Regions from separate parts of the Homo sapiens genome. Here regions 1, 3, 4, 5, 6 and 7 are each linked to region 2. Evidence: promoter capture Hi-C in 16 types of primary human blood cells and fetal thymus (Javierre and others, 2016). All regions are on one chromosome and are shown on one strand. Each heading gives the region's core, a stretch centred on a gene start or on the middle of the fragment in contact. The rest is flanking DNA. Distances are from core to core; before and after follow the strand shown.

Region 1 (3,558 bases), core at 498-2,997, 250 kb after region 2:
AGGTGTCTGGAAGCTGCGTTCATGTGGTGAGCCCATCTTTTCTACTTGGATGGTACATTCATAAGGCCCCCGCCCATACAAGACCCAGGAAAACAGGGCCAGGAGCTGGAAGGGAAAAGGCCCCACAGCCACAGAGTGAGGCCGCCAGCCTGGGGGACGCAGGGGAGGCCGGGGCTGGGTGGGTTCAAGGCCAGTTCGTGTCCCAGCCATGGGGGCGGGACACCCGGGCAAGCTTTCCAGCCCCCTCTCTATCAACTGAGCTGGCAGGCCTGTCCGTTTCAGGACAGCAGAGCCCTGTACCCATCCTCCATGCGCAAGAAGCAAACCCCACTCCTTATCTGCAGGAGGAGGCGGGCTTCTCTGTCGATATGGGCAAGCCCCTCAGGCAGACATTCCCATTCTTCCAATATAAGGCCTTCAAACATTTTAGGAGGCATGCAGGCACCCCATCTCCTCCTCCCCCTGAAATCCCAGATGTAATTACAATACGTGTGGCATCCCAGGGCGACAGGACCAGCTGGAAGCCGGACCCTAGCCATGTGAACACAGGTACACGAGACTCACAATGGGCACTCACACGCAGACACCCACACGGCCCCTGCAAGCGTCGCCCACACCCAGGCCAGCGCTGAGCCGTCCAGTCTGGGCTCTGCCTTGGCAGACACCAGGGCAGATGCACCTGCCGCCAACGGCCCCAACACCCACCCAGGGCCACCTCCCTCCCAAGTACCTGGGGCAGCCTCGCCCTGCATAACCCGATCCCCTGGCTGGCCCCACACATGTGTTTTTTCACTGAGCTCAGGCATCACCTCCTCCAGGAAGCAGCCTGTCCCCGCTCTCCCATGTCCCGGGTCCTGTGCCCCTCTGACCTGCCCCGGCTCTCCTGTGTCTGGGGGCCTGTGCCCCTCTGCCCTGCCCCGGCTCTCCTATGTCCCGAGTCCTGTGCCCCTCTGCCCTGCCCCGGCTCTCCTGTGTCCGGGGACCTGTGCCCCTCTGCCCTGACCTGGCTCTCCTGTGTCTTGGTGCCTGTGCCCCTCTGCCCTGCCCCAGCCTGCCGAGGGTGTGATGGTTTTCAGTGTGTCTCCCCTCTGGAACTGGTCAGCCCTCAAGGCAGGGCTGACCCCCATCCCAGTGCCTGGTATGAAGCTGGGCCTGAGCTTCCTCAAAAAGCGTCTGATGCACAAGCGAATGTGGTGACAATACCCACGAAGGGCCACCCTGAGCCTGTCAGATAGGAGGCGGCATTGCTTTGCTGAAGCGTGGGAATGCACGCAGGAGTGTGAGCACAGGCCCTGGCCCTGGACCGCCCCGTTCACCCAGGGCCCTGCTGGTCCTTCAGGCTCGAGAACACGATGTCCACAGGCTCCCAGGAACTGCAAGTGAGCAGAGTGGCCGAGAGCCGTGACCCCAGGACAGCAGCTGAGCAACAAGGGGGCCCCCAGCAGGCCAGGCAACCCAGGGCCCCAAGTGACATGTCCCCTCGCCCCAGGCACCCTTCACCCCAGCCATGGCCTGCATAGCAAGCCACTGCCATGCAGCCTGGGGAGCTCCAGGCTTAAGGTCCTGGCAGTGACTCTGGAATGGAAGTGCCAGGGCACAAACTCCAGGACCACCCCTTACCATGACCTGCAGGGCCGTGGGCAGGCAGGAAGCCCCCTCATGGCCAGGTTTCTTGAGGGCACCGTGGTTTCATGGCAGCATCTGCCTCCCAGGGCTGCTGCGGAGGGGAGAGGAAGGGACACAGAGTTCTGGAGAGGTGCTGCTTGCCAGTGGGGCCCCTGCAGATGGACAGAAGCCTGAGGGCGGCCCCCTCTGATTTCCAGCCTTCCCTCCAACCTTCTCCTGCATCCACCTGGCTGCCATTTGGGCAATTCCCAGGAGGATGAACAGAGTAGCCGAAGCCCGCAACACAGACATTTAACTTAGGAAAGATCTGATTGGTTCGGACACCCCTCGCCCCGGGCAGTGAGAAGAGGGCCTGGGCAGACCCTGCCTTGTTCCCCGTGGCCTCCCCAGCCCCCAGTCCCTGCCACCCCTGAGCCAGGGAAATCCTTCTGCGCTGGAAGTGCGGCAGCCCACAGAACAGAGTGCAGCCTGGGCATGCCCTCGGCCCTTTCCCTGAACCTGTTTCTTCTTCTGTAAAGTGGGAGAGAAGGACACGCACAGCTGGCAGAGGGCGCAGGGAGCATGACCACCAGCCGAGCACGCTGTGCGTGTGGGAAGCACCCAGTGGCAGCTACAAACAAACAGGCCCCGGCTCCCCTGTCCTCCTTCTTCTCGCCAGCAACCCCAGAGATCTATTCCGGGGACCCGGCCACAGCTGGGCTCCCGAGCCCCACATCCCCCAGCCCGAGGTGCCCTCAGGCCTTCCAGTGGAACATTTTTGACATAGTCTAAACCATCAGCAAAACAAGATGAAAATTCAGTAATTGCTTTTGGCAGGGAGTCCATGGGCCAGCACAGAGGCCAAAAATAACCCCGGGGAAGTTTCCTGGGCCACCTGCAGCCCTGGGGGCCCGTACTAGGCTCTGTCTGAACACAGGCCAGGACGGGTCTCGGCCTGGCCCTGCAAGCCAGCCTGGACAAAGCAGGGAGGCGGGCAGGGACTCGGGGGGCAGCGGGACAGAGTGAGGCTGTCACTTAGCACACTTCAGGCCAGGAAGTGCCCGGCCATCCGGAAAAATGTAATGTCATACTTTAGCAAGAAAAGCAGCTGTCATGCTACTTAGCAGCCCACAAATAGTTGGCTGAGTCCTAGAGCGGGTGTTGGCTGAGCCTGGGAGAGCAGAGATGCCAGGCTGGCAGGGCGGTGTGGGCCTCGTCCGGCCAGGTGGTATTCCCTCCCAGCCCCTCGCTCCCCCAGTCTCCCCCAGGCCTGGTCAGTCCCCAGCAGGCTGTGGGGGGCGCGAACCCCCTGAGGTTACAGCCCAAGGTCGCTGCACATCTGGCCACGGTAGGGGGACCTCGTCTGACCCCTCCCTTAATGCCTGCTGGGGAACCCCAGAGGGGACAGGAGCTCACTTCACCGGGTCAGAATCAGACCTCTCACCCACATCCCAGGCAGCCTAATCCTTTCCTCCAGGCCTCAGGGCCTCATCTGTAAACTGAGGCTGTCAAAGATGGTGGTCAAGGTACCAGAAGCCCATTAAGTAGCCAACCAGCCAGGCTCAGGGCTGACCCCCGCGCTCTCCTCTCCCCCATTTTACCGATGAGGAAATGAAGGCTCACGGAGGGAAGACCACACAGCGAGGATTGAAGCTTGGGTGGGACCCCAGGAGCAGAGCGGGCAAGGACGGCGGCTTCCCAAGGAGGGCTGATTGGCCTGCAGAGGGGTCAAGGACAGTGGTGTCCCTAGGAGGGGCTGATGCACCAGCAGAGGAGACGGGCCAGCCCCACCCTTGCCTTATCCAATTCCTTCTTCATCCCCCTAAATGGGATGCCCAGAATGCATGTGGGTTGCCTGAAGCCCCTTGAAAGCCCCCGGAGTGTCAGATGGGGGGTGTCCAGCCAGGTCTTTGGTTGAAGGAAAAGAGAGAGAACCCACCAGAGCCCAGTCCC
Region 2 (3,285 bases), core at 534-3,033:
GGGGGAGACAGCCTTTCCACCTCTCCCAGACCGGAGCTGGGTGCTAACAGGCCCTGCCGGATGAAAATCCTACGATACTAACAGACAGCTAACAGGCCGGGACCGGCCCCCAGCCACCACCCCTTGTCCAAAGTGCAGGTTCATTGTGCTGCCCTCTTGGCTTGTAACAGTTTTGCAACAGTTGCAACTTGTCTTTGAGTGCAGGGACAGGAGAAGTGTGGGCTACCCGGCCACTGCCCTGGAGCTGTGGTGACTGCTGCGTTTTTCTCCCATGCACTTGCACGTCCAGGACTCCTGGGAGAACTTGGGCCACACTCCTTCCTTGCCCTCTTGAGCTCATTCGTCACCCTGTTGGGTGAGCACAGCCCTAGCTCAGGCCACTGGGCAAGCCACACCATCCAAAGAGGAGGTCCTCTGCCCCAGGACCCCCACACCACCCCAGGTAAGCCTCAAACTGGCGGGGCCAGCTTTCCACTGGGCAGCCAGGGGCCTAAGCCAGTGGGCCCTTTGCCTTTGAGGCAGGGACTGAGAATGGTGTCAGCACGTGGTCAGGCCCAGAGCCCAGGCCCCCTCCTCTAAGAGGTCCTCCTGGATTCCCTGCTGGAAGGAAGCCAGCCTTGTGGTGTCGTGTCTCTCCCTGGATCTGTCTGCTTCGTGGACCCTGAGCCCCTCGAGGGCAGGGGCTGGGTCTTAGATGTCACTATAGGTTTCCCAGCAGTGCTTTGTACACATTGGGCATTCAGTAAATGTAGAGGATAGACAAGCTGGCAACAAGACAGTCGGACATCCTCGGTGTGAATAAGAACACAATGATTTGATTGGTATTAATTACAGCAGTTTACTATACGATCGCTTCCGGTATTGGCAGCTGGCATCATTACAATATTAACAGACTGCCATTGAAATGCCCCGTCTTTGATCCAGCGCGAGGAGGAGATGTGACTTTCCATCAGCACCTGTTCTGATTCTTTGGGCATCCAGAGGTGTATTCTTTCTGGGTTTCCTCCACACCCCTCCTCTGGGTGTCTACTTCTGTCTGGGAAGGGGTAACTTGCCCCAGCCCAGAGTCAGGCTGCAGCATCCGGTCTGCCTCCTCCACCAGCTTGCTGTGTGGCCCCCTCCCTGGGCACTGCTGTCCCCAACAGTCAATGGAGGCTGGAATCCCTGCCCTGGGGGCTACGTGCTGTGCAGTAGCCAGTGGCTTGGGGGCATCTCCCCAAACACCAGAGGGGTCTGGGAGCTCGGGAAAGCAGGACGCAGACAGACCAGGAGACCCTGTCCCTGGGAAGCTGACCCAGGCCTTCTCACTCGCCTCTGAAGGCAGTGAGCATCCTGTCCCTGGGGGTGAGCAAACTGGGGCATGTGCTGAGATGACCTCACCAAAGGAGCCTCCCTGCAGTGGACGGGCCCCTGGCCCAAGCTGCTGCTGACCCCACCTTTCCTGCCCACCCTGCCTGTGCATAGCTCCTTCTGGGCGCGGGGAGCTCGGGCGGCTCCAGCAGGCAGGTGGTGCCTGGGTCTACTGCAGCAACCCTGAGGCGCCTGTTTCAGAGACGAGGAAATGAGGGTTGGAGCGGAAGGGTGACTGCCAGGTCGCCTACGGGTAATGGGGCATGGGGTTCACAACCCTGCTCTGCCGCCCTCAGAGGGAGCTGCCCACAGGGCTGGCCTAGAAGCCCCAACTAAGCTGGCCTAGAAGCCGCAGTGGTGGGCGGTACGCTCCGCCCAGATCCTGGGCGGAGACATGGGGCTGGCAGCGAGGGTGGGGGGCGGGGGAGGCCTGGAGTTCCGGCCAGGCCACTGCTTGGGAAGCAAGAAGGTGAAGGCACCTCTGCTGGGCCAAGCACTCTTAGGGCCGAGGGGCACTGCAGCTGACAAGAGGTACTTGGAGGTACACCCCCAGGGAGGGACGAGGCTGGGGCCTCCCCTATGTGGGCGGGGCTGGGCCTGGTCAGATCTGGCTGGGATCTCCCTCTGCCTCTGGCTGCAGGGACCATCCAGCTGCATGAGCAGGACCAGGGTTCACCATATGGGCAGCTGCCTCCCCGCCCCCTGCCGCTCCTCCCCACAAGTCTGCCTACCCTCACCAGGCGAAGGTGCCAGGCGCTCTCCTCGCTTGACCCCCACCACCCCCTGAGCCTGGGAGGAGGAGGGCGTTCCTGGGTCCTCTGCTTTGCAGTGAGGTTAAGTTGTTGCTCGAGGCCCCAGTCCTGTGACAAAACCCCCACCCATCTGTCTGATCCCAAGCCCAGGGCTGTCCTCAGCCCTCACTCCTGGGAAGCTGACTCAGGTACGAGACAGAGTTGGAGGGGGCAAGAGAGTGGGTTAATGTGGAGGCAGCTGTTTCCAGGGAGGTGGCAGGCAGGAGGGGCTCTGGGCTGTCCCCGCTGGGGCCGCTGCCAGCCCCCAGTCTGACAGTCAGAAGAGCCCTGACTGACCAGGCAGGTGGTGAAGGGGCACGTGGCAGCCTCCGGCGCCAGCAGCTGTCGCTTTTTGGGCACAGTCGGAAGGAGGAGGGAGGCTTTTGCCCACAGCTGACCAGGTGTGCTGTGCCATGCGGCACCGTGGTGGGTGGTGGGTGGTGGGGTGGGGGTGTTCAGCCTTGGAGGGCCTTCCTCGGTGCCACTCAAGCTGGCTTTCCCCTGGTGGGGCACCACTTTTGGGGGCTCCTGGAAGACTGTGGACCTTCAAGGACTGAAGGTATGTACAGACACATGCAGGAGGCATGCCTCCTTGTCCGGGGCCACCTCTGCAGGCAGGAGCCAGGCGGGCTGACACACTGAGGGCTGAGAGGCTGAGGACAAGCTCCAACACCTCCTCACTCCCCTACGCCGCTGCAATCAGACTCCCTGCTCCCTCCCTTGGGATGGGGCACTGGGGCAGGAGATGGGGGGCAGCCCTGACCAGCCTGAGAGCTGGGATCCCCCTCACATCCCCCACTGTGCCTAGGACAGGGTTCTGGGCTTCGTCAGGGCTTGGGCAGTGCCCACAGTTCAGGTGGGACAGAGTGTGGCAGTGGGTCCTGAGTCCCCCTGGGATGGTCAGAAGAGGGGGCAGGAGAGAGTCCCTGGCACTGCCACATGGAGGCCCTATGACCCTGGTCACCTCAGGGAGCCTCTCCGTGTGTCAGACTCCCCCGCTGTGAAGTAGAGACATTATCATGTGTCTATAGGTGTTCAATGAGAGTGAACGAACGTGCATAGCTATGGTCCACTCTTGAAAAAGGATGCTGACTTTCTTAGATAATTATATCAGTCATTCATACTGACGTAGGTGGCACAGCAC
Region 3 (3,136 bases), core at 499-2,998, 200 kb after region 2:
AAGCCTGTGCCACCCTTGATCCAAGGGCATGCAGGGAAGCATGCCATGCTTTGCCTCCAAGTCCTCAAGCCCCCTAGAGAAGGGCTGTGGAGACAGCCAGCCTCGGCTGAGGGGGCTGGGGACCCAGGCGGGGGGAAAGGCTCTGGTTCGAAGGGATGGGCCTGGGCTCAGTCCAGCGCCTTGGCAGGAGCACCTTGGGATTTTAACTGGCTCAGCTCTTGCTGGCCTCGCAGGAGAATGGCCTCTGCCACTGGCTGCTAGGGTCAGTGCATGGGGATGGGCTTGGCCAGGTCCCGGGGGAATGTGCAGCCTCGCCCTAGACCAGCAGCTCCACAGTCAGCATCCAGCAACAGCCGGCACTCAGGTGAGGCAGAACCCAGGTACCTATGCCGCCTCCCGATCCCCGGAGAGAAGATGGAATTGGGGGAGGGGCAGGGCAGGAGGAGGTGCAGTTTGTGCCAGCATGTCAGCAGTCCAGGGCCACAAGGCTGACTTCCTCCCAACAGCCAGCACCCTTGGCTCAAAACACCTGCCAGGGGTCAAAGCAAGCCCATTGGAAGGGACTGTCCAGCCTCCAGGCCCTCAGCTCTCCCCACCCCCTCCTCAGCGTCGACCCTGCCCTGTGGAAGGGAAGACCAGAGATCCACCATGACCTCTGTCCAGGCCTTGCTCAGGTGCTGAGGGTCACTTGCCAGCGAGTTAGAGAAGGGATTTCAGAAACCACGCAGCCTGCACTCATAACCTGGAGCCCAGAGAGGGGAGCCAACCTGCTCAAAGCCACACAGCAAGGTAGCACACTAGCAAACTCAGGGACTCGACCCCCACGCCTGGCCAATTCCAGGGGAAGAAGGCATGGAGGTCACCCCTCACCCCTGCCAGGCCAGAGGCCAACTCGGGCTCTGCCCCTCCCTCCTCAGCAGCCTCCATCCAACTTGAAGAGTTTCCTTGCAGGCCCGGCACCTGCAGATTTTCAGGGGCCACTCCAAGGACACCACTGCAGCCCGGACGACGCAGCAGTGCACCCTGGAGTGGGGAGCCTGAGTCTGACCTCCCCTGCCCCCGCCGCCTGCCCCCCACCTCCCTCCCCTGCAGACCTCCATCTGCACTCTCAGCCTCACACCCACAGGAGCCCCCTCCACTGTGCCATTGGCTAACGGGTGCCCCAGCCTCTGCCTGCCGGCTGAAGACAGGTGCCAGCCGGCCTCACACTTGCTTTTTTCATTAAGGCTTCCAGACACCACTGGCTTCTGGCCAGGCCTCGCTCACGGGGATCCATCCCTCCCTGGGGTCCAAAAGCAGCGGCTGGCGGCAGCAGAGAGGTCTGCCGTGCACACAGAGCTCCGGGCGCACAAGGCTAGGTGCTGGGAGGCCACCCTGCCCCGTGCTCTGCGGCCCGACCCCTCCCCACAAGCCTCCCCACGTTATGTAACGGCTCCAGAGGGCGCGGGGTGCTCCTACCCCCAGCCCCACTCTGAGCAGTGGGCTGGCCTGGTGGACGCTGCAACGTGAGGGGGACGGGGACGAGGTGGCCTACCTGGCTTCGGGTCAGCAGGTTGTCCTCCCAGAGAAAGGGGCGAGCGCTGCGGAGGGCAGACGGCGCCAGGTGCGCTGTGCGTGCGGGGGCGGCGTGAGTGCAGAGGCTGCGGCCCGGCCTCCCTCTCCCCTTCCCCTCCTCCCCCGCGCCGCCTCCCTCTCCCACTTCAAAGAGCATCCAAGAGAGGGGGTTCCCGGGAGGGGCGCAGCCCAGTGGCGGCTCTGCGCCGGCGGCCGCCTTTATAGCTGTCAGGCAGACGGGGAGGAACACTCACACTTCCCACCAGGCCGCTCCCCCGCCCGCGCCGGCCGGCCTGGCGCACACTTTAACCCGCTCTGCGCCTCTGGAGCCCGGCCAGGCCGGCCCAGCTGCCTGTTGGCTGCTGCCGGCGGCGGCGGCCCAGGAGCGGCGAGCAGGGAGGCCTTCTTCCCGGGTCCAGAACTGGGGGCCACATGTCGGGTGTCCAGACGGAGCAGCCGCTGGCCTGAGGTTACCGGGGAGGCTGGCGGTGGCAAAGCCCCAGCCCCGCCTGTCCGGCTTCTGCCTCCAGAGCGGGCCCTGTCCCTGGGGCTCCTGAGAATGGGGTCTGGGATGTATGAGGTGTCCCGTCTGATGGCTCCGTTGTACGGAGGGAAAGGCTGAACTTCCGGGACGACCGTGCCCCAGGTCACGAGCCTCAGAAAGCTCCCGAGATGCAGGGGCCTAAGCAGGTGGAGGGACGCAGGGAGACCCAGCGAGAATGAACCAAGGGCTCCAGGGAGGAGACAGATGTGCCCGTGGCCTGCTGACCAGATGGCTAGAGCAGCCAGGGCCAGGGCAGAGAGGCTCAGGGATTCTGCAGATGTCCAGCACCAACTTGGCAGCCCCTGGCAGGCCAGGCCTGGAGCTCAAGCCTCTGTTCCTGCTGAGTCAGGGCACAGAGGGGAGCGAGAGTGGGTGGAGCAGCAGAGCCCCCCTGGGAAACTCCCGGCGGGCCCCAGACTTTGTGAGGCTTTCCTAAAGCAAGGCTGGGCACCTAGCCTCTGCACACCAGCTTCCCCAGAGCCCATCCTCGGCAAACAGAGGCACCTCCAAAAAGGGGAGGAGGAGGAAGCTGGGGCACCATTCCATCAGGTCATCTGTGTCTTTTCATCCATGCCCCTGCCTCCATGCAGCAGATGTCCTGGGCCCACAGCAGTGCCGGGAAGACACTTCTCCTTCCCTCTGTCCTCCCTGCTGGAAGAAACTTGTGAGTTCCTTCAGCTGCCTTCATGAGAAAGTTCTGCCCTGTGTCTGACCACCCACCAGAAAGGCTGGGAAGGAAAGCCACCAGTAATAGTAGTGAAAGCGATAATACCGTCTGCCCTCTGTCCAGCTTGTCCTACGGGCCCAGAGCTGTGAGGCCAGATCCACCTTTATGATCTGCATTTCACAGGTGGAAGAACTGAGGTTCGGGGACCAAGTCACCTCTCCAGTAGGCAAGGCTGGGATGCCAGCGCTCCTGAGTGTCGGGTTCTCTCCTCTGCCGGGTTGTTTAAGTTTCTCTCCCCGGGACCCTCGGGCAGGCAAGTCTTATTCATCTCATTCTCCTGCTGGGGCAACTGGGATGCAAGGTGGCTGCTC
Region 4 (3,586 bases), core at 1,020-3,519, 180 kb after region 2:
GTAGGTGTGCCTGGGCCCAACCTCCACATCCAATGTGCAGGCTCATTCTGGACTCGGCAGGGGAGGAGGGAAGCAGAGGCGGCAGCAGCTCCACAGCCCGGGCATCTGCTCTGGGACGCCACCATGGAGTCCCGCCGCCCCTGAGCCAGAGAAGGGGCGATGGCAAGCCGGCGCGGTGGACAGCAGGTCCTTCGAGCCTCGACTTCCTTTTTAAACTGGACAGTGCAGCAGGTGGCATTGCCCAACTCCACTTTCCTCTGGGCCCAGAGGGGCTGGCTAGAGATGACCCCAAGCCGCCATACTTCACTGGGCTGAAACGTGGGCCAGGTCACAGGTCCTTCTTCAGGACCTTCAGTCACCTGGGGGTGGTCAGGCTTAGAGCATTATATTCAGAAAGGCTTTCAGATTGACTCCGTGATACAGACATGGGTTTGGATTGAATGGGGAGTTTACAATGTGTTAGGCAAGCGGGTGAGCATTGCTCTTCTGTTTTGCTTGGACTGGAATGGGAGGATCCCACAGCCAGGCAGTATTTGTGGGGATGAACGCTGCCTTGACCACACATCTGAGGCCCCAGGAATGATCTACCCACAGGAGCTTCAGCAGTGAGTTCACTGGTGTGGCTCCCTAAACTCAGGGAGGGAGAAGAGGAGTGAAGGGAGAAGGCATGGGGACCAAGGCCCAGGAAGGGCTGCGGGCTGGGGGCTGGTCCCACTGTTTCTTCAAAGCCTCCTTCACCTGGGAGCTTCAAGCCAGGAGAGTCTGTCCCATCCTGGGGCTCAAGGGGAAGGGAAGAGTGCCTTCTCCTCCCTCTTTCAGAACTTAGAGGAAGCTTTAAAAATGGGGGTGGGGGCCAGGCGCAGTGACTCTTGCCTGTAATCCCAGCACTTTGGGAGGCCGAGGCGGGTGGATCACGAGGTCAGGAGATCGAGACCATCCTGGCTGACATGGTGAAACCCCGTCTCTACTAAAAATACAAAAAAAAAAAAAAATTCACCGGGTGTGGTGGCGGGCGCCTGTAGTCCCAGCTACTCAGGAGGCTGAGGCAAGAGAATGGCATGAACCTGGGAGGCAGAGCTTGCAGTGAGCCGAGATCACACCACTGCACTCCTGAGCAACAGAGTGACTCCGTCTCAAAAAAAAAAAAAAAATGGGGGTGGGTGGGGGGTTTCCCAAGACCCTGTCATCTCAGAACAAAAGTTCCCTGGAAACCTGGAAAACTGCCCCAATGGGGGCCACTCAGAGCACCCAGATCAGGATAAGTAAGTCCTTTCAGGGAACGGAGAACCCGGAAGACCAGTCCTTAATGTTCGATTCAGAAAACACTAAACTGTGCTGACCAGTTCCCCACCTACTTTCAACAGCTTTAAATTCTCCCCAAGAACAAAAAGAGATGAAAAGATCCAACCCATGCCCCTCCACCCCACCCATGGAGACGCTCCGCCATCTTTATCTAATTACATGCTCTGAGCCAGCAGGCAGCATGACTCATGCCTGACTCAAGAGAGAGCGGGCCCGGTTCAAAATAACCCTTTGGATTTTAAGCACCAAAGGTATTTCTGGAGGGGCTGCCCACACACTCTTCGCAGCAGCACGTGTGGGGCATAGCAGATGCAACTCTTGAACATAACCCTGCATATATTTGCACAACAATGCAACGCCTAGCAGGTTCCGTTCTTGGAAGTAGCACAGGGAAGCGGAACACCAAGGAAATCGCTGAAGCACCAAACCGTCGCTCTCCTCCATCTGGAAGGAAGTCACTGCCCCTCTCAGCTGTGAAAGTCAGAGCTGCTAGACTGGGGCTGGTGACGGCTGTGGAGTCACCACCAGACCACCTGTCACTCCTCAGGGTCCTTCGCCCAGATGCCCGGCCAGACACAGGCTCACGGGCTCCCCAGGCAGGAGAAGCTCTGAAGCCACCGTGTTTGTTTATAAACAAGCCAGAAAGTGCTCTGTTCTTCTCTCCCCCCAAGGCTGCGGAGAGGGACTCCGCGTCTCTGTGTCTCAGAAGCTTGTTCCCAAAGTCGGAGTCTGGTGACAGGGGCCCCTCCCTTGATTGTTTGAAGCTTTTCTGGAAAGATGAAAATAGCCTTTCCTTTCTGGGCTGCCCCTTTGATTTTGCCTTCTCTGAGCAGACACGACTTCCTGTGTTTGGACAACTCGGCCGAGACGTGGCTATTTTGGCCTGGTGGTTTCCCCCGCCGCCTCCCTCTGCCCTTTATCTCTCCACACCATCTTTGGTCCCTGTGCGGCAGCATCCTTTGATGGCAGGCCGGCCGGGGGAGCAGCGGCATCTCAGCAGTCAGGGCCTTTCTGAGTGCTGACAGCCTAGTTGATCGACCCTTGAGGCCCCTGACAGGCCCTGGAAATTCAATATATCCTGGGGCGGGGGGCTAAGAGGGGAGGGTAAGAGTCAACCAAGATGGGGCAGGAGAGACTCTTTACAAAGCGGCTTGAGGATCCGTAAGCTTGTGCCATGACCCTGGCCTAAGGATCACTGAATATTTGACCTGGTGGGCCCAAAGGGCAGCCCCTGACAAGCCCCCCAGTGAGAGATGGGGAAACTGAGGCCCAGAGGAAGACAGAGATGCTCAACTCACACAGTGTCCATGCCTTAAGCCAAATTCCACAGCGAGGCCTCGGTGCCACTCTGATAAACCTATTCTATTTGGAGGGCCGTGACTGCCGGAGAGCTGGCCTCCCTGACCCAGGCAGTGGGTCCTGAAAGGCACCCCCCACTGCTGCCACTTGGAGGCTCAGTTTTCTACTAATAGCTTCTACTTACTGGAGGCCTTACCGTGGGCCTCACACACGGAATACCAGGGAATGCCCCGGACTGCCCTGGGAGGTGAAGAGGGCCCACGCTGAAGACACAGACAGACTGGCAGCCTTGAGTAGTGCCGTTCCCACAGGCAGGCACTGTCTGGGTCCGTCCCTCCTGCCCTTTACCCAGGACCCCCTCTCAGACTCAGACACTATACCCAAAGCAAGGCCCGGCCCTCCCCGCCCGAGTCCTGAGAACCAGCCACAGGCCCCACCTACCCAAGGCTTTGAGCATGCCAAGGTAAAGGGTGAGCAGACAGCCCTGTGCCACCCCTGTGGGAAGAGGGGCAGCCAGAGGAGGCTCCGAGGCCCCACTCTGTCCACATCTGCAAAGTAGGATTCCGCCCAGAGCCTGCCAGAAGTGCTCAGGACATCCTCCCTGCACCCCGCAGCCCCAGGCACCTCGGTGGCCTCAGAAAACAGTTTGAGAAAAGCGGCAGGCATCCCCTGGGGCTCCTGGCTCACCAGGGAGGTTGGCTTTGTTGCTCTGGTCCCAGGGCTGGATGGGTGGGAGGGTGGCCCCAAACCACATCACCTCGAGAGTGAACCCTGAATCTCCCATCAAATTCAGTCCCTGAGCCCCAAGGAAGACCCACTCAGCACTCCCAGCCCAGGCCGGGTTCAGTTCATGCTTGCGTCTAAAGTCAAAGGGCTTGGGTTGGACCTCAGAAAACAAAACCAAACACCAGTGAGCCCGTGCCTGCCTCCAACCCCCACTCACTGCCTGTTTAAAGTAGCCCCCAGGCACATGTGAGTTGCTGGG
Region 5 (3,616 bases), core at 92-2,591, 230 kb after region 2:
GCACACATGCCTGCACACACACCACACATACACACATGCACGTGCACACATGTACACACTCCATACACCACACACCACACATACACACATGTGCACACATGTACGCACTCCATACACCACACATACACGCATGTGCACACATGCACGCACTCCACACACCACACGTACACACATGTGCACACTGCATACACCACACACACTACACATACACGCAAGTGCACCCATGTATGCACTCCATACATACACACACCACACATGCACGTGCACACATGTACGCACTCCATACACCACACACACCTACACACACGTGCACACATGTACACACTGCATACACCACACACCACACATACACACATGTGCACACATGTATGCACTCCATACACCATAAACACACCACACATACATGCACGTGCACACATGTATACATTCCATACACCACACACACCACACATACGTACACATGCATGCACACACATACACACTCCATAAACCACACATACACACATGCACGTGCACACATATAAACACTCCATACACCACACATACACACATGCACGTGCACACATATACACACTCCATACACCACACATACATGCACATGCATGCATGTACACACTCCATACATCACATACACACACGTGCACATATATACACACTCCATACACCACACACCACACATACACACATGCACATGCACACACGTACACGCTCCATAGACCACACATACACATGTGCACACATATACACACTCCATACACCACACACACCACACACACGTGCACAAATGTACACACTCCATACACCACACATACACACACATATGTGCACACATATGCACACTCCATACACCACACACACACCACACATACACGTGCACACATGTACACATGCCATACACCACACATACACACGTGCACATATATACACACTCCATACACCACACATACACACACGCATGTGCACACACATACACCCTCCATAAACTACACATACACACCACACATACACACACGCACGTGCACACATGTACACACTTCATACACCACACACCCACACACGCTACATGCACTGTGAAAAGACGGGGTGTCCTTGAATCAGCGTCTTCCCCTCTGGCCCCGTGTGGAGACCACATAAGCCTCACACCAGGCTTTGTAGGGGACAGGCTCTGGGGACCCCGTAGCTGGAGAGCCCTGGACATCCCTGCAGAAGCAGGCACCTGCACGGTGGCCGCCCCACCTCCCTCCCCACCACAGCAAGCAGCCAGCACCCCCCTTTCCCGCTTCGCAGCAGCAGCACATGGAAAGTTGGAGGCGGCAGGCCACTCCGAGCAGGGCGGCGACGAGGGCCCTGCCAAGCGCGAAGGGCCACACTGGCAGGCTCCTCACTGCAGCGATTTACGAAGGCCGCCCAGAGCCTGGCCAAGTCTGTAAGTCACGGACAATTAGGAGGCGCGCTCCAGCCCTCAGTCCCTGCCCACCACTGCAGGATCCCGGGCTCCAGGCCCAGCCTCGACCCTCCCGACAGGGGCAGGCCCCTCCCCTTCACAGGCGACCCCTCGGGGGCCCCAGGACACAGTCCTGAGCCCACTTTGCCAATAAGGACTCCGAGGGCCAGGGACGTCAGACAGCTCGGGACAGTGGCTGCTGGGTGGGAGACGGTGCCAGGGTCTTGCCAGTCCCCCCAGCTGTGTCTCCCTCCCATGGCCTCAGGCACCACGGCCCACTTTGACATCTTGGGGGCTCTGACCAGGGAGCCAGGTAGGGAGCACCCGGGAGGGGCCACCCTGCTCCCTTGACACCCAGAATGGTCACCCCAACGCTGCAAGTTAACAAGAAAGAAACATTATGGCCTGCAGATGCAAACACCTCTGAATCCCTATGTCTGCCAGCCCCGAGGGCGTCGTGTCCCTGGAATCTGAGAAAGGGCCTCCAAGGCCGCCCCAGCCAGAACTCCCTCTCCCCAGCCCTGATCGGGAGACCTGGGGACTGTGAGTTCAGTTCTTGGAAAAGTAGTTCTAGATGTCACTAGGAGTCCCCAGCTAGCACTGGCCAAGAGGACTTGCTTTAGCAGTGGGGATGCTCTGGGCTGCCCAACACGCCTGGTGCCTGGGCATCTGCAACGTAGCTGGTACAACCCCAAACCTGGATCTTTAAATGTTATCCTCATTTTAAATAATTTAAGTTCGAATAGTCACATGGGTCCGGCCAGGTGCGGAGGTTCACGCCTGTAATCCAAGCACTTTGGGAGGCCGAGGTGCGCGGATCACGAGGTCAGGAGATCAAGACCATCCTGGCTAACACGGTGAAACCCCGTCTCTACTAAAAATACCAAAAAAAAAGTCACATGGGTGGCGTTGCCGATGAAATACAGGACGCCCAGTTGCGTTTCAATTTCAGATCTATAGCAGACGATCATGCAGCATAAGCGTGCCCCGGGAGCTATTGGAGAGACACTTGCGTGAGACACGCCTATACCAAAAAATGATTCATCGTGTATCTGAAATCGAGTTTATCCCAGAGTGTTCTGTTTGATCAGGCAGCCCTGTCCATGTGGCTGGTGGTTACTGCATAGGACGGTGCATCTGCTGGAAACAAAAGGGATGGGACAGCTCTGAGGACTCTTGGTGACTGAATGACCATGTGCTCCCACAGCTGGATCATTTCCCACTCTGGGGGGATGGGTGGGCACACACCCAGCAACAGCCTCCCCGAGCCTGGGAGCAGAAGCAGCCTGGGCCCCACCCATCCCAGTGCCAGGGTCAGCCACGCCCCAGCCCCACACTCCGGCCCCGACCTGCCCACGCCTGTGCCCCGTGCTGGGGCACACACCACACCCCCTCCTGGCACACATAGCAGGAGCCCAGCTCAGGGGAGAGTGCTGCACACCTCAGGCAGCACCAACGCGGAGACGTATTCTAAACACTCAACAGCAATGTAAACAAAACAGGCTATTGTAGCAGCCACCTCCAGCTCCCGGCAGCTCGTGTGAGGCTGGCATGGCACGGGGCAGTGCCCCCTGCCAGGCCGTCCTCTGTTTGCACAAGCGGAGGCGTTTTTGTCTAAGGGCAGTCTGTGTGCTGTGGCCTTTGTCGTGTCTGCTACTGAAATTTCCTGTCTCTGTTATTCTCTTCTCCAGTAAGACGATCTGAAACCCAAAACTTTTATTGCCCCTTTTAAAAAGGCTTTACAGCTCCCCATCTACTTCATAGACTGTCCCGCTCTCGGGGCTGGGATTGTAGTTAGGGCAAGCACGCTGGACGCCGGGAAAGGAATTCACCCTGGTCTCAGCCGCAGGGGCTTGGCTAGGAGGATGTGGAGGAGGGGTGGGCAAGGGATGTTTCTGCAGAGTCGGCAGGAAGCCCCGGGGTGTAAATCTCTTTGCCGGTTAGCTTGTTACCAAAGCAAGCTGCCTAAGGTGGTTAGAGGCAGCAGAGAGTGCTTGCAGCCCTGGGGCCCCCTGCCAGGCCACCTCTCCATGGCCAGGTGACCTTGGGGCCATTTCTGCCCATCTCTGCATCCAGATTCCCCACCTGTGAATGGGAACAGCAGCCTCACCCCGCCGACCACGCGGGCCCCTTTGAGTAAATTAAGTCAGAGGCTGGCTGGCTGGAAAGGTG
Region 6 (3,506 bases), core at 313-2,812, 130 kb after region 2:
CGGAGCTGGCAGGGGTGCCCGCCTGGGCACGCAGTCGCCTCCCCGGGGGCCTCCCGGGCTTCTCAGCGCCCGCCTCGCCCGCCCAGCCACACCAGGCGCCACCGCCGTGGCCTGGGCATGAGCGGCCGCCGCTAGCTGCGCCCTGCCCGGGTCGGACGCCCGCCCGCCCCGTCACGTGCGCCCAAGTCCTCGCGGCCGGGGCAGCGCGGTTCCCATGCTTCAAGGTAAGGGCCGAGCGGGCCGCGGGTCACGGGGTGTGGGGCAGAAGACGCAGGCTGGAAAGCTCCAGCTAGGTGCCCACTCGTCCAGAGTGCCCACTGCAGCCTGCCCCGGCTGCCTCGCACCAGGTCCCCTGACCCAGCTGGCGTCACCCATCCCCTGGCTTCCACCCTCAAAGCGCATCCCCGAGGAGGAGACTGAGACCCAGGTGGGCACGAGGGCCTAAGGGAGAGGTGGGGGACCCACTTTAGGAAGGGGGGCTTCATTTCCCTCGGAACAGTGGCCTGGGGGCAGGGGGCAGTGGGGAGGGAAAGTTTCCCAGAAGAGCCCTCTGGAAACCTGGCCGCCTTCTCTCCCTGCCAGGAGCTAAGACTTTTTCATTTGCTGAGCTTTGCCTTCTTCCAGAGTCGGTGCTGCATTTTCATCCCATCCCATTCACCCAACACCCACGAGAAAGGGGCATTGGCCCCATTTCACAGATGCAGAAACTGAGTCTCCGAGAGGTTTGGTCTCTTGCCCACGATCACAGAGTGGGGAAGTGGTGGAGATGGCCTCAAACACGCCGGCCTCTGTCACCACCACCTCACACCTTTGTCTGTTAGGAATCTCTGCTTCATTGACAGGTGGGGGGTTGCCTAACTGACACTAGGTTTCCTCAGCCAGAAAAGAAAAGACTCTACACACCAAAAACCCAAGAGATATTCAACATGGGTCCTCAGGGCTCCACTGTCTCACCCCACTCGTGTCCTGTCCTCCCGCAGCCACGGACTGCCTGGGCACAAGTGGTCCTGCCAGTGTGTGTCCCGTAGCAACCCCGATGGCTCTGAGACAAGAAACTCAAGGGTCAAGTTCATGGAACCTTCTGCAGGGTAAGGGGAGTATCCTTGAGGCCTGAGCCCCAGCATTCGTCCTAGCACCTTCCCCAGTAAGCAGGAGCTCAGGAGAGCCAGCGGGCCACCCTGCCAGCCTTCTCCCTTGCATTTCCCTCAGCCCCTGCCAACTCACGCTCTTCAGGGCTTCTGGGGAGAGCAGTAATTACCAACCCCCAAAAAGTTCAGGGTTGCTGGGAAAGCACCTTTGCCCATCTTCCCACCTTCTCCCTCTTATAGAATTGAGAGTGAAGTGGAGGTGACCAGGGCTCTACCCACCTGAGCAGGTGAGAACCAGCACTTCCTGGGCTGGGCAAGGGCTGGTTTTAACTCTTGGTGCACTGACTGCAAGCTTCCTAAACAGCTTAGGTGCTGGCAGCTTGTGAAAAAATCTCACCCTAAGGCTCGGGGGCCCAGGAAATGTGGGGTTTTGTTCATTCGGTCTTGCACTTGCTGGCAGTTTGTTGAGCATCTGCACGATGCTATGAAAAGACCCACAGGGCAGTCTTTGTATCCTGGATCCAGCTGGGTTTTGGTTTCCCTATCAGCTGAGTTTCCAATGGGGCCGGCTTGTCTAGACTCAGCCGGAAAGCTTGGAAATGGCTCCCGAAGGATCTGGGGGTCTGGGAAGGATGCACAGGCTCTCCCAGCCTCAGTGCCCCACTTGCATGGGGAGGGAGTGGGAGCTCCAGGGTGCATTGCTGGACTCTCAGGACGTGCTGACACCACTCAGAATCCTGGCACACAGAGGTGTTGCAGCTTCTCCACCCTCGCCTCTCCAGCAGGTAGGGCAAGGAGCCCCACAGAGCTCCTCCTACCCTTGAGGCTGGAGTCCCCAACACACGTCTGTCATGCCAGTACCATCAGCAAACATGAGCAAGGGCACCTGGGGAAAGGTGGGCACAGATGGAGAAGTCGGGACTCGAGTTCTGTCCACCTTTTTGGGTGACCTTGGGCAAGTCACTTTCCTCTCTAGACCTCAGTCTCCCATGTACAAAATTGTGGGGTGGATCATTTCATGTCCCCCCTCTGAGCCATTACAGCTCTGTTCATCTAAGCCCCGGATGGAGTAGGAAAGCTGGGAGGAGTGCAGTTCCTCCCTTTTTGCCATGGTATTGAGGGAGTGCAGAGCAGTTTTGAAATCTTCGGACTGACCTGAGTCCAAGCCCCCAGTCCGTGCCAACCCTACTCCCTACTCACATGATCACCCCCGTTTTGTATATTTAGGGGCTGGCTCTATATTCCTGACTTTTCTGGTGCTGGTTCTGGGTGAGGCTTCACAGCATGGAGACCCACTCCTGCAGTGAGACCTCTGGCTCCTGCCACGTGGGCCTGCCTCTGCAGCCTCATGGCAGCGGGCTCCAGCGAGGAATAATTACAGCACTCGGGAGGGGAGAGATGTATTACATCTCAGTCAATTACCTCTGACTCTAAACTCTCGGGGCAGGAGGGGAGGCAGAGCAGCAGCCGAGCCCTTGTTCTGTCCTCCACTCCGCTCCTGGCCCTACCGCCACTTCCCTCTTCAGAGTAGCAAGTCCTGATCTGTGTGTTGGTAAAATGGCAATTTGTGTGGCAGAGAGAGTGGTTTCCAGGCCAGACCACGGGTGCATCATTCCGCATCCCCATCTGCAAAAATGAGGGTGCTCCTGCCTTCCCTGCTGGCACATGGGACACCGGGGCAACCGTGAGCCTGGCCAAAAGGCTTTTGGATGCCAAGAGCATGTGGTCCTGGGGACCACCCTACAGAGGCCAGGGTGGGGCTGGGGGGCTTCTCTGCCAGCTGCTGCCACACTTGGCACTGGTACTTCTTGCAGTGTCTCAGTCTTTCTGGATCTGCTCCAGAGGGGATTTGATGAGTTCCGAGGCCTCAGTGTTTGCCAGCTCCCTCCCTCCGTTGCTGAATCCTCCCGCAGGCCTTGGCCCAATCCCCGCTTGCTGGGGGTTGCTGGAGAGGGGAAGGAATCCTGTTGCCCCTGGGGTGAAGTGGGCTGGTGGAGGTAGAGTTGAAAGCCCAGCTTTGCTGCTTTCTGGCTGTGGAACCCTGGGCCTGAAGGTCTTGGGCTGGAAAATGGAGACTGTGCCTCCTCCTTCCCTCGGGCCTCATCAGTGAAGGAGGAGGCTGGAGAGTCAGGTGGGGTCCGGTTCCGCCAGGCTTGTAAGCCCTGCTCAGTGGTTGGGCTTTCCGCCGCAGTCCACAGGAACCAGGCTCTGGGAGCCCGGAGGGACATGGTTCGCTCTGCCCTTTAGGGACCCTCTCTGGCTGCACCATGGGGAATGACTTGGAGAGGGGGCCCTGCAGGCAGGAAGCTGGGGAGGAAGGGAAATGATGGAGGCCTGGACCAGGGTGGTAAGAAGAGGGCAAGTGACAAGCATGTTGAGGGCTGGATGTTTGTGTTGGGGTGATGGGAGACGGCCTGA
Region 7 (3,564 bases), core at 1,058-3,557, 150 kb after region 2:
TGCTTCCTGCTTATGGCTCCAGGGCTTCCCAGCCATCCACAGCCTTGGCGTTGGCTCCAGCTCCTCTCCTCCTGGTCCACAACACCCCTCGACTCCCCTTCCCAGCTCTGCACCATGCCAGTAGTGGGCCAGGCAGGGCTCCAGCCCTGGGTCGCCCTGGTCGCCGGTCAGCTGAAACTGGTCTTGAGAGTGGCCTCTGTGGCTTGGACTCCAGACAGGGATGGGCTTTGAGTTTCAGCAAGACTCCTTGAGGAGCAAGGATAGGCATCTGTCCGGTCGGCTTTTCCATTGCTCAGTGGATCATCTCACTCTTCTGGCCTCAGTTTACTCCCTAGAAAATATGGGTCAGTCATCTCCTTGCAGAGATGTGTCAGACCCCCTGCTTCCCCGATGGCCTAGGGAGTGGGCTCTGGACAGTGGCCGAACCACTCTTACCTCAGTTCACGCCACCACCTGGGAAAGCCGCCTACGCTGGGGGGTCCCAGGGTGAGACGAGATGAATGCACAGAGTCCCGCAAAGCCTGGCTGAGGCCATGCTGGTTCTTACAACCCCTGACATGGTTGGGTGGCAGTCCTGAGAAAGGCAGGGACCCACTGCTCCCCATCACACCCCACCCCTGCCTTACTCCTACCCAACTGCCCAGCAGCTCCGGCTGGCCCAACGTGGAAACAGCTTCCATTCTTTAAGAGCACAGAGACCCCTGGGCACCACAATCTGCACTTTTGTGCCAAACACACACTGTGTGCCCTGCTTCTGCTGGGCAGTGAACCACAGACCCTAAGAGCCCCTCCATGGTACTGACCCCAGGGGGCTCTCCAGCTGGGGTCTGGGGGGAGCTTCTAGAAATCTGTGAAACCCCAGAAGTGGCCAGCAAAATGCCATGGTCCCTGTGCTCTTTCTGGGGGCCCCTCAAGGAATCCAGGCAACCACGGGGGCAAACCCTGGGCACGAACGAGTTTTCCAGACACCAGCTCCCCACTCTGTGCCAAGCCCGGCAGCACCAGTCCCCCTGCTGTGGGCATTTTCTGCCTCCTAGACAGACCGCAAGCCCCTCAGAACCCGTGGTGGGCAGGGGCCTGATTCACTGCCCCCTCTTCCCCCCGCAGCTGAGCTGGGGATAGAGCTGGGAAGGCAGACATTCCAGGTGCTGTTGGGAACTGCCCTCCAGGCCCCGCAGACTCCCTTCTGCCAGCCCACCCCCAGCCGGGCTCTGGATAACATCTCGGAGACCAACCGCGGCAGCACAGGGCAGCCGAGCACTTCCTCGTCTGTTTATTACTGAACGCAGGCATCTGGGAGCCCGCGGAGCATGAAATTAGGAACAAATGTGCAGGAGGTCTAGACAGGAACTCTGCGGGCTGCTCTCCTCCGATCGAGGACGCCGGGGCCCTTGGGCTTCCAGGTAATGGGAGCGCCTTTGTAACCAGACAGATGTGTTTGTGGAGAAAAGGCGCTCTGAGTCTCCATAAGCCCTCGACGAGACGCCGGCATGGGGAGGAGTCTGACCGTGAGGCAACAAGCCTGGGTTCCAGGTCCAGCTCTGCCCTGGGCCCCCAGGGTTGGCCCTCTCTGCCCTGGCCTTGGTTTCCCCATCTGGAAGTGGAGGGCGCCCGCCTCACCTGGTTAGAGGGGCCGCTTGTGAAGCCATCAGATTGCAGGGCCCGTGCAGCTGCACTGCCGTCGGGACGTCTGTGTGTTTACCAGGCTCCCCGTCCTGGGGCCCGGTTGGTTTGGAAGGCGCGGGGCTGGATGAGCCAGAGGGCACGGCCAGTGCCGAGGATGTAGGCCTTGGCTTCTCCCTGGCTCCTACCACGAGCGCTGGGCATCTCAGGTGAACGAGGCAGACAGAAGCCTTCATTAAGCGTCGCCTGGGCCCTGTACCATGCAAGGCAGTGGCGGGGGCTGGGGCTGGGGCACAAAATAAATAAGCTCTGGAGGGGTCCGTTCCCGTGGGCTTTACGGCAAGTGAGGGGGATGTGGCAAGAGGGACAGAAAACTAGCAGAGTCTGAAATTCAGCACGGGACGTGTGGCCCAGATGGTGGTTAGCAGGGGGTCTCCTGCCAGGGAAAGGTGGGTGTGGGGAGGGGGCTCCCGGGGGAGGCAGGTGGAGGCCCGTGTCTGGCTCTGCTGCCAGGTGTTTCCTGCCCCACCCCCAGCTCCACGCCATTCATTCCTCGGTGCCGGTGCCGCAGGAGACAACTGAAGCTTGTAAACGCAGCTGGCTCTCCCTGCCGGCTACAGAGACGAGATGGGGCCCTCAGAAGGGGACTGTTGCCCGCCCAGGCCCCCTTGCCACAGACTCTGTGGACTGGGGTGGGGGACGCACAGGGGAGCCCCATCTCACAACCTGTCCCTGTAAAAACCCGGGGTGGGAACAGGGAAGCAAAGCCATTTATAAAGCTTTAAAACCATTTATGGTCCCAGGGGGCAGATAAACAATTCAGCGCTATTCTCGCCAAATTGCCTTGGCTGGCAGTGCGGAGGCTTCAGGGAGCTGGAAGAGGGGTGGGGCTCGAGTCACAAGCAGGCGGCAGAGTAGCCTCTGCCAGGCTGTTGCTGGGCCTGACCCGCATGGCTCTGCCTCCGAGGCTTGGCCTGTGCTGTTCCCAGCACCAACAGGCCCTCTCCTTCTTCTCCCAGCCCATCCTTCACAGCCCGGCTCAGAAGCTTCCTCCTCCAGGAAGTTTCCCTCGGTTCCTCCCCCATCCGTTACCACCCTGAGCAGCCAAGTCCTCCCCTGTTCTCTCAGGCACTCAGCTTTCTCAGAGCACAAGTATCCTTGGGAGCCAAAGTGTCTGTAGCCCTTCCCGTTCTCTGCCTACCCTTGGAGGGTGTCATCTGGCTTTTTCGCCTTATCACTTGATGTTTGTTTACATTTTCATAATCCTGACTTTGTTGGGTGTCTAAATCATCTGGATTCCTGGCAGGACCAATTAAAAATCCAAGTCCCCCAGAGTTGGGAGGAATCAGCGTCTAAACCCTGCCACACCCATTGTACAGATAAGAAAACTGAACCCAGGGAGAGGCCTCTGACCCAAGGTCACCCGCAAGAGTAGAGCAGGACAGAGGCCCCGCAGACTCGTATCACCTGGGCCACAGCTGAGTAGAGTCCTGGGGTCCCCAGGGAGGAGGCTGAAGGTAAGCACTCAGGGAGGGCAGCAGGTGGTCCATATTCTTCCCCCATTAAATGAAGGGGTGGGACCTGGTCCCTCTCAGCTCTGGCGTTTGAAGTTTTGAAGTTCTGTGGTGTGTATTAAAGTTCAGGAAGGCTTCCTGGGAGAGGAGGGCACGTGCTGGGCTTTGATGGCGTGGTAGGTCCGGGGGGGGGATGGGCATCCCAGAGGGTGGGGCACAGCTAGAGCAGAGGGGAGGCAGGAGGGTGGAGGCCCAGGGAGGCCGTGTTTTTGGGAGCTGCTCGGAGTGAACTGTGGTCTGATGTCAGGCTGGGCGCTGGTGGAGCTGCCAGCGGAGTGTGTGTCTGTCGGCCATGCCTGGCCCTGGGACCTGGCGCCGTCTCGGGCGTTGCTGCTCCTCGGCAGGCGTGTATCTGCAGAGCGAGGCT

Evidence for each region. Contacts are between HindIII fragments. The CHiCAGO score rates a contact against its expected background, and 5 or more counts as called.
Region 1: a contact is called between a fragment that was not itself captured here and the fragment with the promoter of SARDH in region 2, in 1 of 17 cell types (fetal thymus). The highest score is 5.3, in fetal thymus.
Region 3: the fragment with the promoter of ADAMTSL2 here is called in contact with the fragment with the promoter of SARDH in region 2 in 5 of 17 cell types (fetal thymus, activated CD4 T cells, megakaryocytes and 2 more); the score reaches 6.3 in fetal thymus.
Region 4: a fragment that was not itself captured here is called in contact with the fragment with the promoter of SARDH in region 2 in 1 of 17 cell types (fetal thymus); the score reaches 5.1 in fetal thymus.
Region 5: a contact is called between a fragment that was not itself captured here and the fragment with the promoter of SARDH in region 2, in 1 of 17 cell types (fetal thymus). The highest score is 5.9, in fetal thymus.
Region 6: a fragment that was not itself captured here is called in contact with the fragment with the promoter of SARDH in region 2 in 6 of 17 cell types (naive CD8 T cells, total CD8 T cells, non-activated CD4 T cells and 3 more); the score reaches 8.2 in naive CD8 T cells.
Region 7: a contact is called between a fragment that was not itself captured here and the fragment with the promoter of SARDH in region 2, in 2 of 17 cell types (non-activated CD4 T cells and naive CD4 T cells). The highest score is 7.2, in non-activated CD4 T cells.

What each region holds. Positions count from the first base shown.
Region 1 is chr9:133,491,475-133,495,032 of GRCh38, reverse strand. LOC102723855 (a long non-coding RNA gene) reads right to left here and starts at 3,322. Exons shown (of 3, transcript XR_428608.4): 1 at 1-3,322. The HindIII fragment of the contact is 3,026 bases long and covers 235-3,260 here.
Region 2 is chr9:133,736,850-133,740,134 of GRCh38, reverse strand. SARDH (sarcosine dehydrogenase) reads left to right here and starts at 1,783. Exons shown (of 21, transcript NM_001134707.2): 1 at 1,783-1,881. The HindIII fragment of the contact is 9,698 bases long and covers 1-3,285 here.
Region 3 is chr9:133,533,316-133,536,451 of GRCh38, reverse strand. ADAMTSL2 (ADAMTS like 2) reads right to left here and starts at 1,748. Exons shown (of 19, transcript NM_014694.4): 1 at 1,535-1,748. RefSeq lists enhancers at 178-719, 1,260-1,801, 1,802-2,341, 2,342-2,883. The HindIII fragment of the contact is 12,534 bases long and covers 1-3,136 here.
Region 4 is chr9:133,556,917-133,560,502 of GRCh38, reverse strand. The region is part of intron 11 of ADAMTSL2 (ADAMTS like 2); the gene reads right to left. Among named protein-coding and RNA genes, the nearest start is that of ADAMTSL2, 24 kb to the right of the region's middle. RefSeq lists an enhancer at 3,157-3,586. The HindIII fragment of the contact is 402 bases long and covers 2,069-2,470 here.
Region 5 is chr9:133,509,078-133,512,693 of GRCh38, reverse strand. No RefSeq gene overlaps it. Among named protein-coding and RNA genes, the nearest start is that of MYMK, 14 kb to the left of the region's middle. RefSeq lists enhancers at 1-56, 2,993-3,616. The HindIII fragment of the contact is 8,560 bases long and covers 1-3,616 here.
Region 6 is chr9:133,605,795-133,609,300 of GRCh38, reverse strand. FAM163B (family with sequence similarity 163 member B) reads left to right here. Exons shown (of 3, transcript NM_001080515.3): 1 at 1-224. Among named protein-coding and RNA genes, the nearest start is that of FAM163B, 1.8 kb to the left of the region's middle. The HindIII fragment of the contact is 240 bases long and covers 1,443-1,682 here.
Region 7 is chr9:133,583,815-133,587,378 of GRCh38, reverse strand. The region is part of intron 1 of FAM163B (family with sequence similarity 163 member B); the gene reads left to right. Among named protein-coding and RNA genes, the nearest start is that of FAM163B, 24 kb to the left of the region's middle. The HindIII fragment of the contact is 195 bases long and covers 2,210-2,404 here.